2 separate regions of the Homo sapiens genome follow, and region 2 is linked to region 1. The links are contacts of gene promoters, found by promoter capture Hi-C in human tissues and cell types (Jung and others, 2019). All regions are on one chromosome and are shown on one strand. Each heading gives the region's core, a stretch centred on a gene start or on the middle of the fragment in contact. The rest is flanking DNA. Distances are from core to core; before and after follow the strand shown. Region 1 holds the start of TECTA (tectorin alpha). Region 2 overlaps GRIK4 (glutamate ionotropic receptor kainate type subunit 4).

Region 1 (3,559 bases), core at 330-2,829:
CTGCCCTTACAATTGTGGTTCCAATAAAAGTGTCTCTTTATCAATTCAAGAGCATGCTAACTGAGAGCTTTATGGAATTCTGTAGTACTCACCTTGGTGCTGTACAAGTGCGAAGATGAAAGAGACCCAAATTCTAAGGAATGATGAATAATTCATCCTGGAATTTTAAAAAGAAAATGAAAAAAAAATCCCCAGCTTGCCAGAGTAAACAGAACACCAGGTGTGTTTAGTGGCTAATCCCAAGACCATCAAAACCGTCATAGAACAAATTCACATAACAACATCAACAGTGCTGAGTCGGGCTGAAATCCCCTGAATGCTGGCAGGTCCTCCGAAGTTCAACACTTCATGAACAAATTAGATGCCCAGAAGAAGCCAGTCTGGAAGTGTAATGAGATCATTCAAACTGTCAAGTAATTATTTAGGATCAGTGAGAGTGGTATGCGTAAAGGAAAGGTATCCCCTCTGCATCAAATAAAGCGCTGAAAACTAGGACCCAACGCTAAAGATGCATGCAGGTCCCGGGTTGTGTCTCTGCAGCAGAAACCACACCCCAGTGAGACCTGGATTTCCTAATTTTCACTACAGCTTTCCATCAGAATCAAACAAAAGTTGGTTAAAACACAATGTGTTCTACAGCTAGGAGAATTTAGAGTCTGCCATCACCTTCTCCATAGAATGGAGCCGATCCATCATTTTGAAGTATTGACCAGATTCAGGGCCAGTCTACTCTGTTCACTGACTTCCCACAGTGAAATGAATGATAGAAACATTAGTAATAAAAAAGGACCAATCCAGAGTTGGAATCACAATAAAAATAGAATCCAGCGCACAAGCAACCAATTAGTTCCAGCAAGTTAATTAAAGAAGGAACACAGCAAAGAGAAACTTGTTTTCGTGTTAGTTTACAATCGGTTGCATGGTGGCTTTACCCTCCATCAGGAGCATGTTTTGTCTGTGTCACTCTGCAAAGCTGCGATGAGAACACGGACGCAAGCTCAAGTTAGACATCACCCAAGCGTGTGGCTAGACCATGAAGTCTCCTCCTGACAGTATTCTTAAAAAAGAAAAACCTTCCTCTTATCATTTGAAGTTATCACAATTCTTCAGCCAAACTTTCACGGGAAAGGCAATGAATTTATCCTGTGAGAGTTTTATTGCAAATCTTTAGTTGTCAAGTATATATGTTGTAATTTCAAGCACATATTAAATATTAGACAGTTTTGCTGGAAAGGGTACAAAGGTTTAGCAGAGATCACACACAGCTTTAATGGAGAAGATGCCGTGCAAGTTTAAGACTAGAGCCCTTAGGGAACCGGTTCAGAGAGAAGTAAGGAGGATTCATTTAGATATTTGTATTTATGAAAAATGTCACTAACCTGTTCTGTAGAGGCTGGAGGAACTGAGTCAGAAATATTAAGCCAAATCTTGGTAAGCCAGAAAAAATTAGGTAAAACAAGAATTCATGTCAGTTCTCCTCAACTTGTTGCCAATAATTTCTGATTCCTGAAATAATGTCTGAATCTCGTACTCTTAAAACCAAAAATTAAGTTAGTCCTGCACTAGAGACAGGTAAGTGTTGAGCTGCAATCAAGTTTTTTTCTATTGATTAAGGAAAAGTAAATCTAAAGATCAGTTTCAGGATTGCGTAGAGAGGTTCTTTTCCTGAAAAACTAGACCTTTTTTTTTCCCCTTTGAAAAAAAAAGTAGATTCAGATGGAAATGTCAGGTACTTGGAGCTGAAACCTTGGGCCTTTCTGATCAGAATCACTTTGCACTGAAAAACACAAAAGAAAACCCCCCTTCTACCTTTGTACCCAAAAGAAGGCAACTGTATAATGTTACAGAATTAGCATCCACCAGCATGGGATTAAAACTCCAAACAAAGCAGCTGCCTCCAACATTTAAATGAAGTTGGTTTTCTATTAAAGTCTTTTTTTGTTTCTCTGGTTTTCAACAGTCGCCACAGATAGGCTCTACTCTATTTTTTCACAGGTATGCATGAAGTATTTAAAGAAAATTTCCAAACTTTTTAGGTTTTATGCCCTCTCTTTTCTCTCTGATGCACCGCTCTGCAGGAGATAGGACAGGGCACTTTCCAGGCAAAATCTAACAAGGGACCTAGCGCTAGACACGATCTTCCACAAGGGAAATCTCAAACTGTGGCCTGGAAACCTTCCCTAACACCCAGTGAGGGTCACTGGAGGCAGAGGGGGGAGATAAACCCCTTCTGATAAAAAATTTGCAGTAAGTAAATAGTTTAAAAGGCATGTGAATAAGAGGAAAACGTGCTCGGTTAGATGCTTCCAAGCATCCAGTAGATGTGGAATGAGCAAAACTGGCTAAGGCATAAGCTAAATCTACTATTCAAAATGTTTAAATGGAATTTATTAAGAAAGAAGTAACTTGACTGTAGCAGGAAAAAAAAACTCTTCTGCACATCAATGGGAATTTAAAAATTACTGCAAATTTTCTCTGACCAGACATTTAAATGCCAACTGTACAAAAGAAATATAATTCTGGGTTTAAGCATGTTGTCTTAAAATGGACAAGAGTGCTTGGCGAGCTAAATTTTTTTAGTTTAAATTACTCCGTGTTTTTCCAAAAACCTGTGATAATTCAGTAGGTTTCCCACATTGTTTATTCTCTCACTGGTATTATGAATCCTCCACACATATTTACTTACAGATGTTAAATGACTGCTTCTTTCCAAATGACTCACATTTATTTGTTTTTCTTTGGATTCTAGGAGTGCTTAGAATGGCGTATATTTATATAACAGAAAAGCTAGTTTCTTGGGTGCCTATTTAAAATAAAATTAAGTTCAAATCAAAGACTCATTACAGAAGGATTCTCTTTGTCCAGCCTTAGGTTTTAGTCCAGTAGCCAACCTAAATGTCTTGAAGCAAAATCGCTGGCTGTGTTTTAATTAACTGCTGGTGGCATACTAATTGCTTTCTTCCTTTTTCATGCATTCTAGGATATTTATATCACAGCCCTTTTGACCCATGTTGGATGCTCCATCCTTCTTGAGACAGGACTGCTGCCCGGATAAATGCCATCTGGGCATAACCAGATACACAAGATGGTGGCATACATGAATTAGAATGCCTTTGAGAATCCGGCTGCAAGGGAACACCAGGTGCGTGGGGAGACACCAGGCTGGCTTATCACTTTGGGAAGCTGGTCAGTGAGTGTGTGTTCTGGTGTACACCCAGTGGTCACAGATTGACAAATGACAAAAATGTCTTTTCATGCTGTGTCAGCAGGAGGACTTATTTCGTTGAAAGTGTGAGGTGAGCAAAGATTTTGACAAGATTTAGATGTGGGGTACGGTGGGGGTGGGTTGGAGCTAGTTACCCAAGATAACTGTGCTTTATAAAAAAAAAATGGCAGAAGTTGATGCTGTTTTATAGGCAAGAGGAAAGACAGCTCAAACAAAATAAAAAAATACAGTCCTCTAAACTCAAGTAGAATGGGTTTTATTTTGTTTTTGTGTTGTTTTCTTAGGTTTTGTATACCTTTTTCTGTGGAACAGATGGTCAGATGGGAGCTACTT
Region 2 (3,559 bases), core at 701-3,200, 180 kb after region 1:
TTTGTAGGAAAAAAATCGACAAGTAGATACCCCCCCATCCCAGAGCACGTGTTTGGTGAGCAGAGTGAGGGCTGGGTTTCACACCCCATTCCTCCTTCACCATGTCTTAACCTGCACAAACCATACATGGAGGTCCTATGTATACAGGATGTGAACTCTATGAAAGTAAAAACTGTGTGAACTCTATGAAAGTAAAAGCTGAAGGCACAACCAATATGGAATCAATGCATCTAGAGGCAGGCACCACTGGCTGAGGATGGTAAGTACATCAGAATGGGTCAATAGGGTTGTCACCCCGGGTTCAGGAATAGGATTCTTACTCCTGAGGGGAAGGGGAGTGAGAGAACCAGTTTGGCAAGCTCAGAGACTTAGGCTTGGGGAATCATCAGAAGCTGGATTTCTCAGTCTGGGTGGGAAGGAGAGCAAGGCAGAGGAGGCTTGGTCCCTGCGTGCTGAACTGGAGCTCCTGAAAGCCTCCCTGGTCTCAGACCAGAGTCTGGTGTCTGGCCAAGCCCACAGGTAACATCCTCATCTCTGCTGTGTGGCTGGGGAATCGAGACTAGAGAATTCTTAGAAGACATTAAGATCACATTGTCTGTAGCTTCCTTTCCTGTCTCTGACCCAAATCAATTCCCTACCACCTGTCTCTTCTGCTTAGCAGCAAGCTGATCTCTTAGAAGGCTTTCAGATGCCTTAATTAATACATTTTCATTTCCTTTGCAGACCCTTCACTCCCCTTAACAGCTGGCGCTCAGTGGGGAAGGTGGAAATAATTCCCAAGAACTGATAAGTTTCCCAGGCTGCTTTGAGATGCCCAATGGGGTTTGAAGGAGCTCCCAGTAGGAAGCTGCTAAGGGAGCACTGAACCTAACTGAACTCCAAACCCTTCCAGATCCCCCCGGGCAACTCCTTCCATGGAAAATAACCAGCACAGGGATCTGAGGATGGGCGGGGAAAATTCTGAAGTCTGTTTCAAATCTGTGGCTGACTGTCTCTGGGCCTGGAGACTGCTCTCCCAGAGACAGGGATTTAAGCAGCGCACCTGCACGGGTGACGCTCCGATGTCATTCCTTAGTCCTGCCCTGCTCGGGGCTCCCAGCCATGTACTCACACCTACACTTTATTATCTTACATGCCTGTGCCCCCCTTGCCTTTTACCGCCCGGTCTGTAAGCTTTCAGAGACAGAACCAAACCTGATCTGTTCCTTTACCCCACACCCCAGCACAGTGACTGGCACATAGGTGTTAAATCACTGTCTGCTGATTGATTCATAAATGGAAAGCCTGGCTTTCTTTTCTTTTCTTTCTTTTTTCTTTCTTTCTTTCTTTCTTTCTTTTTTTTTTTTTTTTTTTTTTTTTGAGACGGAGTTTCGCTCTTGTTACCCAGGCTGGAGTGCAATGGCATGATCTCAGCTCACGGCAACCTCCGCCTCCCGGGTTCAAGCAATTCTCCTGCCTCAGCCTCCTGAGTAGCTGGGATTAGAGGCATGCGCCACCATGCCCAGCTAATTTTTGTATTTTTTATCAGAGACGAGGTTTCTCCATGTTGGCCAGTCTGGTCTCGAACTCCTGACCTCAGGTGATCCGCTCGCCTCGGCCTCCCAAAGTGCTGGGATTACAGGCGTGAGCCACCACACCTGGCCGGAAAGCCTGGCTTTCTAAGCCTTGGGTTGATGCAAACCTGCTGAAGGAAGCACTCCCTAGGGGAATGCAAGCGCCCCTTATCTGAAATGCTTGAGACCAGAAGTGTTTCGAATTTCCGACTTTTTCAGATTTTGGAATATTTTCATAAACATAATGAGGTATCTTGGGAATGAGACTCAAGTCTAAACACGAAGTTCATTTCTGTTTCATAGACACCTTAGACACGTAGCCTGAAGGTAATTTCATACAATATTTTAAATAATTTTGTTCATGAAACAAAGTTTTGACTGTTTTTGACTACGACCCTTCATGAGGATAGGTGTGGAATTTTCCACTTGCGGTATCACATCGAAGCTCAACAAGTTTCAGACATTGGAGCATTTCAGATTTTGGATTTTCAGACTAGAGATTCCTAGTATTACCTATGTTACCACTTCACCGTGTTTCAGGCACTGTGTTAGGTGCATAAGGATGTCAAGATGCATAAGACATTGTACTTTCCTTCAAAGAGTTGCCAGTCTTACTTCCACTAGGAATCCATCCTGGTTGTCCCGATTCAGAAGTCATTTCTGCCCCTACCTTCCTAGTCATTTACGATGTACTTTGCTATGTCTAATACAGCACTTATCCTGTATGACCTCATTAAAATAACTTCTGCTCGCATCTGTCTGCCTTTTTAGCTGAAAGGCTCCTAGAGGAAAAGGACCTGACTTCAACTCCTAGCACTCCTGGGCGTTAGCTTCTTGGGGCTCTGTTTTCTTAGTCTGAAAAACGAGGTGGTCATAAGAAGTCCAGTTTCCAGATAAGAGGGTTGAGGACAGAAGTGTCAGCCAAATGTCCCTGTCAAACTGGCCACTCAGAGCCACCTCCTTGTTTACCATTCTCCTGGGCCAACTTATTCCTTCCTCCTCATTCTTCTAGGAGGCTGATGCAGAGAACAAGACGATGCCACCCAAGTCATCCTTTGTTCCAGACACCAGTTCTCACATGCCCCTTTGGTGCAGTGAGAAGAGCCCAAGATTGGGGTCTGAGTCTGGGCTCTGGCCACTTGCTGTGTGTCTGAGCTTGGATTAATTATGGAACTCTCCAAGCCTCTGTGCCCTCATCTGTGGAACAGAGTAATAATTCCTGTCTCATGGGTCATGTAAGGATCAAATTAACTCATGAGTGTAGAGCTTCTACATGGTGTCTGGCCTTGTCAGGAGTTATAGCACCCTGCTTCTACTCCCTTCCCTCCTGGTGGCTCGGCTTTGAACTAGGAAGACATGTGAGCAAGGGTCTGGAGCACATGAGATCCCCATTCAGACCCCCTATAAGCCAAGGGAAGCCAGAGGACAGGGCAAATCAGAAAGCCACAGCAGAGCCCTCCACCGAGCGCAGGTAGGGCATTGGCTGGGCTCGCACGGTTGGCAGCTGCGGCTCCAGAGGCCCAGCGGCAATCTTCTGGGGTGTGCGCACCTCACTCCTGAATGGAGGAGAGGGAGGCCATCAGAGGGAGAGAGGGAGATGAGATGGGAGAGCCCAGCCGCAGCCTGGCAGCCGATACAGACATCTCAGAAGAAAAAAAGGGCGGCTGCAGTCACGAAACTGCCATTATTGCCCTTTTCTCAGGTGAGTGAAAGGACTCCTACTGACAGAAAAGAACCTTTTGGGAACTCACAATGAAGCAGAGTGTTGTGGAGAGAGTGCATGAACATGTTTGTGGCTAAGGTGCAGTCCAGCGCGCTGGCCCCTTTATTTTCAAGTACACCTGTCTGTGAATAATGAGCTGGAGAAGATGGATTTCCTCCCTTCCCAGGTCTCAGTGGGTTGCATGCAGGGATCGCTATGTGGCATGCATCTCTCAAGGAGCCATTGTAGAAAGGACCTTCCCAGGGTCAAACAGCCAATCCCTTCTCCCCTGAGAAGCAGGACG

What was found. Contacts are between HindIII fragments. The study calls those that stand out against the background at their distance.
Region 2: a fragment that was not itself captured here is called in contact with the fragment with the promoter of TECTA in region 1 in 1 of the 25 tissues and cell types used here (pancreas).

The regions. Positions count from the first base shown.
Region 1 is chr11:121,099,263-121,102,821 of GRCh38, reverse strand. It overlaps TECTA (tectorin alpha), which reads right to left and starts at 1,579. Exons shown (of 24, transcript NM_005422.4): 1 at 1,380-1,579; 2 at 93-157. The coding sequence starts at 156. TBCEL-TECTA (TBCEL-TECTA readthrough) reads right to left here. Exons shown (of 30, transcript NM_001378761.1): 8 at 93-157. The HindIII fragment of the contact is 17,013 bases long and covers 1-3,559 here.
Region 2 is chr11:120,915,048-120,918,606 of GRCh38, reverse strand. The region is part of intron 13 of GRIK4 (glutamate ionotropic receptor kainate type subunit 4); the gene reads right to left. Among named protein-coding and RNA genes, the nearest start is that of TBCEL, 110 kb to the left of the region's middle. The HindIII fragment of the contact is 5,965 bases long and covers 1-3,559 here.